Regions from separate parts of the Homo sapiens genome. Here regions 2 and 3 are each linked to region 1. Evidence: promoter capture Hi-C in 16 types of primary human blood cells and fetal thymus (Javierre and others, 2016). All regions are on one chromosome and are shown on one strand. The core of a region is centred on a gene start or on the middle of the fragment in contact, and the rest is flanking DNA. Distances in the headings are between cores, read along the strand shown.

Region 1 (3,974 bases), core at 922-3,421:
CTGAGTACTGCTCTATTGCCCAGGCTGGAGTGCAGTGGCACAATCTTGGCTCATTGCAATCTCCCCTTACTGCAACCTTTGCCTCCCGGGTTCAAGCGATTCTCCTGTCTCAGCCTCCCGAATAGCTGGGATTACAGGTGCCCGCCACCATGCCCAGCTAATTTTTGTGTTTTTAGTAGAGACAGGGTTTCACCATGTTGGGCATGGTGATCTCGAACTGACCTCAAATGATCCTCCCACCTTGGACTCCCAAAGTGTTGGGATTCCAGGCGTGAGCCACCTTTTAAACGTGTCTACAGGTGATCATTTTACTCTTCTACTGCCACCACCCTGGACAGAGCCTTATCTTTTTTTTTTTTTTTTTTTTTTTTTGAGATGGAGTCTCCCTCTATCGCCCAGGCTGGAGTGCAGTGGCGCGATTTCGGCTCACTGCAACCTCCGCCTCCCGGGTTCAAGCAATTCTCCAGCCTCAGCCTCCCAAGTAGCTGGGGTTATTTTTGTATTTGTAGTAGAGACGGGGTTTCAACATACTGGTCAGACTGGTCTCGAACTCCTGACCTCAGGTGATCCCCCTGCTTCGGCCTTCCAAAGTGCTGGGGTTACAGGTGCGAGCCACCACGCCCGGCCGGACAGTCTTATCTTTTGGCTGGCTGATTTCAACAGGCTTCTCGCTGGTCCCCCTGCTGAAACCCTCAGGGCTTTCAGTCTGGTCCTCATACCACAGCCACAGGGATCCTCCTGAAATGTCATTCCACGTCCTTTCTCTGCTCGCAACCCTTCAAATTGCTTCCCATCTCCTTGAGAGTAAAAACAGGAAGTCCTAACTTTGGTTGGTAGGGCCGCACTTCTTCCTCATCTCTTCCCCTATCTGGGGCCGCTTTCAAGCCAGCAGATTCTCGCCTCAGGGCCTTGGTCCTGCTATTCCCTCTGCCTTTCCATACAGAAAGCTCCCAGGCTCTCTCTCTCCAGGAAGCTGCTCCCTGAATGAACACTGTAAATAACAACACCCTGCTTTCTCTCCCCTCCTCACCCAGTGGTGTTTTTAACTGTCCAGTATTTGTTTTTTTGTTGTTGTTTTTTGTTTGTTTTGTTTTTGTTTTTTGGAGATAGTCTCGCTGCGTCGCCCAGGCTGGAGTGCAGTGGCGCGATCTCGGCTCACTGTAACCTCCGCCTCCCGGGTTCAAGCGATTCTCCTGCCTCAGCCTCCTAAGTACCTGGGAATACAGACGCCCGCCACCACGCCCGGCTAATTGTTTTTTGTATTTTTAGTAGAGATGGGGTTTCACGGTGTTGGCCAGGCTGGTCTTGAACTCCTGACCTCGTGATCCGCCCACCTCGGCCTCCCAAAGTGCTGGGATTACAGGCGTGAGCCACCGCGCCTGGCCCAATTGTCCAGTATTATACATACCTGTAGGTTTATTAGTCAATTATTTGTCAACTGTTTGTGCTAGGAGCATGGACTGTTTCGCTCACTGCCCCATCCCTGACGTACAGGAGGCGCTTAAAAAGTAGTTCAGTTACACATTAAAAACAAAGAAACAAAAATACACACATATGGCATTTGTATGTGCCAGGCTCCGTTGTCAGAGCTTTGCAATGCACTGTCCCGTTCATCCTCAGAAGCCCGTGGCTGGTACCACTATATTATTACACACTTTTTTTTTTAATGTGTGAGGAAATCCAGGCACAGGGACGTGAAACAGCCCATAGATAGCAAATGGTGGAGCAGGACTTAAATCCAGGTTGCTGATTTAAATAGGAATATTCCCATTAATCTGGAACGTTCTGGCACTTGTCCCCCTGGATGCTGTGTCCCCCTGGATGCTAAAATGAAGCGATCTGCTCCAAGAAAGTAAGAATCGGTCTGCACAAAGTGGGATCCCGGCCTCTCGCAGAATTAAGCTTGAAGAGTTGAGGAAGTGGTCGTTGAAAGTGGGCGTGCGATTCCCGCAGTAAGAGCGCTCAGGCGGAGGAGAAAGGGCTGAGCCCCGCCTTGGAAGCTGCGGCGGAGGAAGAGGAACTGCGGGGCTTGGCTTCTGCTTTTCTCTGCGGCCCCTCCCGCTCGGGCCTCGCGCCTACTTGCGGCGCCCTGAGTCCGCCGGCCGCTCGGGGGCGCCCGAGGCGGAAGGGGGCGTTGCGGCACCGCCCGACGTCGCGTCCTCGGCGGCTGCGCAGTGCGCACGTCAAAGCCGGGCTCGGGCCGCAAGCGGGGCGAGGGGTTCGGGGAGCGGCGCGGCCTGGGAGACACAGAGCCTTCAGGCGCCGGGGCGGGGGCACAGGCGAAGACTAAGGCGGCGCCGGGCCCCACAGCAGCAGCCGCAGCCCAAGCGAGCGCAGCAGCGCGGCGGCAGCCGCGGGAGCCCCTGGGCAGCCGTCCGCCCGCGCAGCCGCCGCCGCCGCGGGAGCCCGTCGCCGGGAGCAGGAGCGGGCGGAAGACAACGGAGGGGCCGAGCGTCCGAGCCACTCCGCGGGGACCGAACGAGCAGCCCGAAGCGGCGGCGGCCGAGGACGGGGACAGCGACGACGCGGAGGCAGAGAAGGGAACGCCCGGCCCAGCCCCGTGAGTGACCCCCGGCCGGCCCTGCTCGTGGTGCGGACGCCTGCCCGGCTTCCGCCTGCCCCGCTGGGCCCTCACCGGCCCCGGGGCTGCCTCCATTTTCCTGGGTGGCGGCGGCCCCGGCCCAGCTTGTCCCCGGAGCCCCCGGGAGCAGCCGGGCCCAGCCTGCCCTCTCCGCCCGGCTCGGCTCCGGTCCCTCGCTGAGACGCTCCCTTTGCCTTCGCCGGCGTGGGGCGCCCGGGGGCCTGCAGTCCAGGCGCTCCTGCCTCTCCCCCCGTGGTTCTCTGGCGGGGCTGGCGGCGCGTGGTGGTCCGGGCCGGAGTCGGGCGGGCGGGGAAGTGCGGGCCGGGTCAACTGTCACCGGCTGCACCCGGGCTTCAGCGCCTCGCTCCCGCCCCTGGTAAACTTCCTGTTGTCGGGAGGCAGATACCAGCTTTGTGACCAATTCAGGAAAATGCCTAACTGATTTCTGGTTAGGAATTGGGCGGTCGGAGCGTTCTGGAGTTCAATGGAACCACCCCAAGCGCAGACTGCGTGCAGGCGCCGTAGTCGGCCCGCACCGGAGGGATTCAAAGGTGAAGCGGGCCCCGGTCCCCTCCCCCGAGGAGCTTAGGCTCTGGTGTGAGAGATAAGACGAGAACACAAATAACTGCGATACCGGGAAGGAGGTGATAAGTCCTGTGAAAGAACGACGGAGTGCTAGAACGGCACCCGGAAAAACCGAACCGATCACTTCTGCCTCGCAGAAACCTGGAAGGCTTCCTGGGCGGGGGATGCTGAGCAGAGTCTTGAAGGCCTGATGGGATTTAGGAGAGGAGGATTGCAGAAGAGGTGTGTGGAAGGGGTAGCAAAAGCGAGAAGACAAAGCCTAGAAATCATGGATAATTCCGTTTGTTGGCATGGTGCAGGGGGCGGGGGGTATTGGGCTAAAGAGGTATTTTGGGGCCAGATCCTTGAATGCTGTAGAGGAGCTATTTGAGCAGCATTCTAAGAGAAACTTAGAGCTCATTTCTCAGTGACTCATGAGCCCGGAAATGTAGGCTAGGGGATATTAAAGGCGCTCTTGTGAAAGGAGAGAGGAGGAGGCCCAGTCAGGAGTTGACATTCTGTGCCTTGAATGTAATGCAGTTTCAGATCGATTTTGACAGCTTCCCAGATAATCAAGTAAATCCATGCCCAGGCTAAGCAAAGTACCTTTGCAGAAAGCTTCATTAGATATCAGGCTCTTAAGAGGTAATGGAAAGGTGTCTATAAAATAAGCTCATCTGCACACAGAAGGTGTTTCTATTTGTGCGTTCGCTACAGTGCATAAAAACTTCTTGCACTTTGTATTAGGCGTATGTACTTTGGAATTACTAAGCTAAACCTACATTCTTTGAGGTGGCATTTGTGTAAAATAACATAAATTGATGATTTT
Region 2 (3,974 bases), core at 458-2,957, 280 kb before region 1:
AATTCTTTACATATCTGAATACAAGTAGTTTATTAAAAATATGATTGGCTAATATTTTCTCCCAGACTGTGACTAATCTTTTCTTTCTCTTTATGGTATATTTGAGGCACAAAAGATTTAAATTTTGTTAAATTTTAACATCATTTATTCTCTTATGATTATACTTTTGTGGTAGCTAATTCTTTGTCTTACCTAAAGTCACAAAGATTTTTCCTGTGTTTTCTTCCAAAAGTCTTATCATTTTTGCTGTTTTACAAGACTACTGCATAATTTGGGAAACGCAGTGAAAAATGAAAATGGGGGGATCCTTGTTCAAAAATTATTAAGGATTTCAAAACAGTGAAAGCAGAACACTAAACTAAGCACAGAGTCTTTTGTGACTGCACAGGATGCATGCCCATAAAGCCATCCCTGCTTTTACATTTAGAGATGCATGATCCATTTTGAGTTGATTTATGCATATGGTGTGAGGTAAGGGTCTAATTTCATATTTTTGCATGTGCCTATCCAGTTATACTAGTACTATTTGTTGAAAAGACTATCTTTTCCTCATTTAATTGCCTTGGCACTTTTGTTGAAAATCAATTGACCAAAAACCTAAGGATTTATTTCTGCACTCTCAGTTCTGTTGTATTGATTTTTATATATATTTATGCCAGTACTGTCTTGATTCATGCAGCTTTATAGTAAGTGTTGAAATCACAAAGTATAAGTCTTCCAACTTTTTTCTTCTTTTTCAAGACTGTTTTGGATATTCTGGGTTCTTTGCAATTCCATGTAAATTTTAGGATCAGCTTCTCAATTTCTGCAAAAGGCCATTGGAGATTTTGATAGGAATCATACTGAGTCTCTAGATCAATTTGGAGAGAATTACCATGTTAAACATATTGAGTCTTTCAATCCATGAACATTGGCATCACTATTTTGATCTTTAATTTCTCTCATCAATGTTTTGCCATTTTCAACATACAAGTCTTGCATTCTGTTTGTTCAATTTATTTTTAAATGTTTTATTATTTTGCCTACCTTTATTTTTGAATTTGCAAACTCGACTTTTAAATTCCTAAGTTTCCTAGTTGGTTGAATATTATTCATAACTTATTCAATATTATTGAATAATATTGACCTAATATTGAGTCATAGACTTTTGAGTAAGTATATTTAATAACCCCATAACTTATTAGGTCTCAATATTATTAAATAAGTTATGGGGTTATTAAATATACTTACTCAAAATCTTGTTCTGTTTACTGTATTATTTCTTTTCTCTGATATTACCTAAAAAATGGTAAAAGAAAGATCTGAAGGGACCTGGTTAGAACCCTGAAACTGTCCACTAAGCCAGTGTTGACACCTGGGGTGTAGTGGTTCCATGCCTTCCCTAACATTTATTCTGAATTTTATATACAAATGAAAGACTTTTTTAGTTTAATTTATATAAAAATTAGATCATAATATATTGATCTAAACATGATGTTTTCACTGAACAACAAAACTATGACTGTCTATCCAAATTACTAGAATTAAATAGCTATGTAATAGTTCAACAGTGTATATTTACAATAATGTACTTAACCAGTCAGCTGAATACACAATTAGGTTGTTTTCAGGTTGAGGAGTATGTGTTATTGTTGAGGGGTTTTTGCTGGTAAAAACAATGCTTCAACAAAAATTTTGCATTTATGAGCATCTAATCAACAAATATTTATGGAACACCTTGTATATATCAGATACTCAAGAAAAATCAGTGGACAAAACAGACAAAATCTCTGCCCTCATGGCATATATATTTTTGGGGGAAAAGAGACAATAAAGAATATGATAAACAATAAATACACAAATAAGTAATTCATTTAGCATGTTAGGGAGTAGTAAGGGCATGAGAAAAAAAAATAGAGGCAGATTAGGAGCTTGGGAGTGTGGGGGCAGGCTAAGGGGATTGTGATTGTGATTTTTAGATAGGTTGGTCAAAGCAGGCCTCATTGAGAAGGTGATAGTGAAGCAAGGATCTAAAAGAGACAAGGGAGTTAGTTCACTACATAGATATATGTGTCTATGCTAAGTAGAGAAAATAGCCAGTATCAAGTCCCTAAGGCTAGAGAATCTCTGGTGTAGTCAAGAAACAGCAGAGGCGAGTGTGGCCCGACAGACATGAGCAAAAGGAGAGGAGCAAAGGATGTATCATTTCAGACCCTTTGAACAGTGTAAGGATCTGGCTTTCACTCATGAAGAAATTGGGAGCATTGAAAGTTCTGCAGTTCTTGTTTTTATAAGATGGATGTTGTCTTTTTATTTCTATACGATAGATTCCAAAAGTGGATCTGCATGGTCAGTCTGTAGTATATCTTAAAATTTAGTAGATGTTGCCACATCTTTTCTGAAAAGGCTGTAGTAATTCATGCTTACACCAGGGATGAGTAAGTGTCTGTTTTTCTGAATCTTCTCCCTCGTGACATAGTGTCACTAATGAAATTGTGTTTGCCAATCTAATGGGTGAGAAATGGTTTCTCATTGATATTTTAGTTTTTATGTATTCATATGTTTATTAGACATTTTCATTTTCTCTTATTTAAGCTGCCTGTTCAGGTCCATTTTGGAGGAGTTATTTGTTGCTTTTTATTAATAGACTGTAGTCTTTGCCCATTAATATCAGATATATTAACCCTTTGTCATATATATTGAAAATGCTTTTCTACACTCTTTTATATCTGTATTGCTTTTTAAAAACATTTTAACCTATTAAGAGAAATCTTCCTTTAACTATTCTCTTCTCAAATGTTTTTTGTCTGACTCAGATATTTGTTCTGTCATTTAAATATTTACATTATTTGATTCAGCTTTTTTTCCAACTTTTATTTAAGTTCGGGGGTACATGTGCAGGATATGCAGATTTGTTACACAGGCAAAAGTGTGCCATGGTGATTCGCTGTGTGATTCATTCCATCACACAGGTGTTAAGACAAGCATTCACTAGCTCTTCTTCCTGATCCTCTCCCTCCTCCCAGCCCCCACCCTCTGAAACACCCAAGTGTGCATTGTTCCTCCTGTGTCCATGTGTTCTCATCATTTAGCTCCCACTTATAAGTGAGAACATGCAGTCAGCACTATTCACAATAGCAAAAACATGGAATCAACCTAAATCGCCATCAATTATAGACTAGAGAAAGAAAATGTGGTACATATACACTATGAAATACTATGCAGCCATAAAAAAGGAATGAGATCATGTCCTTTGCAGGGACATGGATGAAGCTGGAGGCCATTATCCTTAGCAAACTAATGCAGGAATATTTTATCCAGTTTCAATGGGGTTCCAGGTTGCAAGTGCACTATACTTACATAATAATTTCAGAATAATGGATGTTTTAAAACTACTACCTTTTTTGTAATTGGAGGCCTTTCATAATCTCTGTTTATTTAGATCTTATTTAATTTTCTTCAATAAGATTTTTATAGTTTTCTTCATACAAGTCTCATACCTTTCAGATGTTTATAAATACATACATTTGTATTTGCTATTGAGTCTGAGTATTTTTTTCAATGTATGTCGTTCCAAATAAAAGCTATAAGTTTTATATATCTATTTTCTATTCATACTCTCATATGGTTTTGCTGTGTCCCCACCCAAAATCTCATCTTGAATTGTAATCCCCGTAATCTCCAGGTGTTAAGGGAGAGACCAGATGGAGGTAATTGAATCATGGGGCAATTTCACCCATTCTGTTCTCATGATAATGAGTGAGTTCTCATGAGATCTGATGGTATAAGGGCCTCTTCCGCCTTCACCTGGCACTTCTCCTTCCTGCTGCCTTGTGAAGAAGGTGCCTTGGTTCCCCTTCGCCTTCCACCATGATTGTAAGTTTCTTGAGGCCTATCCAGCCACACTGAACTGTAAGTCAATTAAACCTCTTTCCTTTATAAATTACCCAGTCTCGAGCAGTTCTTTATAGCAGTGTGAAAATGGACTAATATAT
Region 3 (3,974 bases), core at 467-2,966, 260 kb before region 1:
ATATGTATATGTTAAACCATTCTTGCATCCCAGTGATAAATCTTATTTGATCATGGTGTTTAATGTGCTACTGAATTTGATAGTATTTTATTGAGGATTTTTCATATACGTTTATCAAGGATAGTGGCCTATAATTTTCTTTTCTTGTAGTGTTCATGTCTAGCTTTGGTATCAGGGTAATGCTGGCTTCATAAAATGAGTTTGGAAGTAGTCCCTCTTATTCAATTTTTAAGAAGAGTTTGAAAAAGATTGCTATTTGTTCCTTAAATATTTGGTAGAATTCAACAGTGAAACCATCTGGTCCTGAACTTTTGTTTGGTGGGTGGTATTTTATTATGGATTAAATCTTACTCATTATTGGTCTGTTCAGATTTTCCTGTTTCTTTGTTATTCAGTCTTGGTAGGCTGTGTGTGTTTAGGAATTTATCCATTTCTTCTAGGTTATCCAATTTGTTGGCATTAAATTGTTTATAGCAGTGTCTTATGATTCTTTGTATATATGTGGTATGAGAAAGGTAGTGTCTCCTCTTTCATTTCTGATTTTATTCATTTGAGTGTTTTCTCTTTTTTCTTAGTCTAGCTAAAGCTTTCTCAATTTTGTTTATTTTTTCAAAAAGCCAGTGCTTTGTTTTGTTGATCTCATTTTTTTCTAGTTTTGAACTCATTTATTTCTGATCTGATATTTATTGTTTCCTTCTTTCTGCTAATTTTTGCCTTAGTTTTTCTTCTTTGTCTGGTTTCTTGAGGTGTAACATTAGGTTGTTTGAGATCTTTCTTCTTTCTTTATGTATTCTTGTGTTTATTGCTATAAACTTCCCCTCTTGTAACTGCTTTTGCTATATCCCATAAGTTTTGATATGTTACATTTCTATCTTCATTTGTCTCAAGATTTAAAAAATTTTTTCCCTTTAATTTCTTCATTGACCCATTGGTTATTTGGGAGTGTACTTAATTTCCATGTATTTGCAAATTTTTCAAAATTCCTCGTTATTGATTTCTAATTTCATATCATTGTGGTCAGAAAGTATATCTGATATAACTTCAGCCTTCTTTACTTTGTTAAAACTTGTTTTGTAGCCTAACATATGATGTATCCTGTAGAATGTCTCATGTACAATTGAGAAGAATGGTACTTTTCTGCTTGTAGATAAAATATTCTATATATGCCTTTTAGGTCCTCTTGGTCTAAAGTATAGTTTAAGTTTGATGTGTTCTTATTGATTTTCTCCCTGGACAATCTGTCCACTGCTGAAGGTAGGGTGTTGAAGTCCCCTAGTATTATTGTATTAGTCTCTCTTTCCTTCAGATCTATTAATATTTGTTTTATATATTTAGTTGCTCAAATATTGGGTGCATATGTTTACAATTGTTATATCATCTTGATAAGTTGACTCCTTCATCATTACATAATGACCTTCTTATTTTCTTTCTTTCTTTTTGTTTCTTTTGTTTTTTGTTTTAGTTTTTGTTTTGGAGACAGGGTCTTGCTCTGTCACCCAGACTGGAGTGCACTAGTGCAATCATGGCTCGCTGCAGCCTCAACCTCCTGGGCTCAGGCAATCCCCCCAAGTAGCTGAGATGACAGGCATGTACCATCACATCTGACTAATTTTTTTTAGTTATTTATAGAGACAGGATTGCCTTATGTTGCCCAGGCAGGTCTCAAACTTCTGGGCTCAAGCAATACTTTCACCTCAGCCTCCCAAAGTGTTGGGATTACAGATGTAAGCCACCATGCCTGGTTTTATCATGACCTTTTTTGCCTTGTTTTATATTATTTGATTCAAACTGTATCTCATCTGACGTAAGTACACCTGTGCTTTCTTTCTTTCATTTCCATTTGCATGAAATATCTTTTTCTATCTTTTCACTTTCAGTCTATGTGTTTCCTTAAAAGTGAAGTGAGTGTCTTGCAAGCCACATATACTTGGTTCATGATTTTTAAATTCATTCAGCCACTCTATGTCTTTTGATTGGAGAATTTAATTTATTTACACTTAATATAATTACTGATAGGTAAGTACTTTCTAAAACCATTTTGTTTATTGTTTTCTGGTTGTCTGTAGATTCTTTATTCCTTTCTTTCTCTCTTACTGTCTTCCTTTGTGATTAGGTGATTTTCTCTAGTGATACACTTTGATTCCTCTTTATCTTTTGTGTAATCACTGTAAGTTTTTGCTTTGTGGTTAACATGAAGTTTACACAAAACATCTTATAACAGGCTATTTTAAGCTGATAACAACTTAATTTTGATTGCCTACAAAAACTGCACTTTTACTTTGCTCCCTCATTTAAAATGTTTGATGTCAGAGTTTACAAGTTTTATATAGTGTATACTCTAAAAAATTATTGTAGCTACTATTTTTTGACTATATATTTACTTTACCAGTTAGTTTTATACTTTCTTATATTTTTATATTATTAGTTAGCATTTACTTCTTTCAGCTTGAGCATTTCTTGTAAGACAGGTCTGGTGGTAATGAATGTATTCATCTTTTGTTTTCCCGGGACGGTCTTTATCTCTCCTTTATTTCTGAAAGACAGCTTTGCCAAGAAAAGTATTCTTGGTTGTCAGGTTTCTTTTTCTTCCTTTGGCACTTTGAATGTTTCATCTCATTCTCTCCTTATCTGTAAGGTTTGTGCTAAAAAGTCCACTGTTGTCCTTATTAAAACTCCCTCATATGTTAGTTGCTTCTTTTCTTTTGTTGCTTTCAGGATTCTCTCTTTGTCCTTGAATCTTGACAGCTTGATTATAGTATGTTTTGGTGTAGTCGTGTTTGCACTGAATCTGATTGGAGACCATTGACCTTCTTGTACCTGGAAATTTATGTCTTTCACCAGATTGGCAAAGCTTTATACTATTATCTCTTTAAATTAACTTTCTACTTTTGTCTTTCTCTTCCCTTTTATGAATTCCTGTGATTCAAATATTTGCTCTTTTGGTGTGTTTCATAAATCCTGTAAGCTTTCTTCATGACTTTTCATTCTCTTTTCTTTTTCTTCTCTGATTGTATTTCAAATAACCTGTCTTTGAGTTCATATTCTTTCTTCTGCATGATCAATTCTGCTGTTGATGCTCTCTGATGCCTTTTTAAATTTCATTCATTGTATTTTTCAGCTCCAGAATTTGTTTGATTTTTTAAATAATTTCAATATCTCTGTTAAACTTTCTCATTTTGGTCATTTATTGTCTCCCTAATTTTAGTGAATTGTTTCCTATATTTTCTTAAGGTTTGCTGAGATTCCTTAAAACAATTATTTTGAATTCTGCATAAGGCAGTTTGTTATCTCCATTACTTTGGGGTCTGCTATGGGGAGATTATTGTGTTCTTTTGGTCATGTTGTGTCTCTTTGGTTTTTATGTTTCTTGTTGCCTTACATTTATGTCTGTACATTTGAGAAAGTAGAAACTATTCTAGTCTTTGCAGGCTGACTTTGTCTGGGAAAGCCTTTCACCCTATTTAAAGATTCTAAGATGGCCATCTGGCATGGTACAAGGGCAGGCTTGCTGCTAGAGTCCTCAAGCAGGCTAGTCTGGTGCCTAGGACAACCAGTGGGCAGGTCTGTGCTGGGGGAAACCTTGAGCCAGAATCTGCAGGGCTCTACACCACTGATGCAGGCTTCTTCAGGCACTTCAGTAGGCATGAAGCCCAGTGCTATTGAAGCCAGCTTGCTGCTAGGATGGGCCTCAAGCCCAGTGCCACTTGGTCCAGTTTGGCACTCGGTCTGGTCTGGATCATGGGTTCACTGAGGCTGAAATAGTGCTGTAGGAGGCTGAAGACTGAGTTCGCAGGGCTGGCCTGAGTCCTGGGGCTGCAGGATTTAGGTTGGGGTCAGAGTGAGCTTGGAGGTTCAGACCATGGGTACTGGCTAGAGTCTGGGGCTTTGGGAGCTGGGTTTTACTGAAGTCGGTTCTGTGGTTTGGGTGTAAGGCAAAGTCTGGTGCTCACTTCCTTCTCCTTTCCCCAAGCATA

The links. The method cuts DNA at HindIII sites, captures the fragments that hold promoters and counts their contacts. A CHiCAGO score of 5 or more calls a contact.
Region 2: a fragment that was not itself captured here is called in contact with the fragment with the promoter of CAB39 in region 1 in 1 of 17 cell types (activated CD4 T cells); the score reaches 6.0 in activated CD4 T cells.
Region 3: a contact is called between a fragment that was not itself captured here and the fragment with the promoter of CAB39 in region 1, in 1 of 17 cell types (total CD8 T cells). The highest score is 5.0, in total CD8 T cells.

The regions. Positions count from the first base shown.
Region 1 is chr2:230,710,671-230,714,644 of GRCh38, forward strand. It overlaps CAB39 (calcium binding protein 39), which reads left to right and starts at 2,172. Exons shown (of 9, transcript NM_016289.4): 1 at 2,172-2,560. It overlaps LOC124907996 (formin-like protein 16), which reads right to left and starts at 2,656. Exons shown (of 4, transcript XM_047446832.1): 1 at 1,409-2,656. The coding sequence starts at 2,656. The coding sequence ends at 1,898. RefSeq lists a silencer at 1,944-2,883. The HindIII fragment of the contact is 1,861 bases long and covers 1,901-3,761 here.
Region 2 is chr2:230,432,717-230,436,690 of GRCh38, forward strand. The region is part of intron 2 of SP100 (SP100 nuclear antigen); the gene reads left to right. Among named protein-coding and RNA genes, the nearest start is that of SP100, 19 kb to the left of the region's middle. The HindIII fragment of the contact is 4,820 bases long and covers 1-3,974 here.
Region 3 is chr2:230,453,620-230,457,593 of GRCh38, forward strand. The region is part of intron 8 of SP100 (SP100 nuclear antigen); the gene reads left to right. All of the region lies in intron 3 of LOC101928816 (a long non-coding RNA gene), which reads right to left. Among named protein-coding and RNA genes, the nearest start is that of SP100, 39 kb to the left of the region's middle. The HindIII fragment of the contact is 2,265 bases long and covers 585-2,849 here.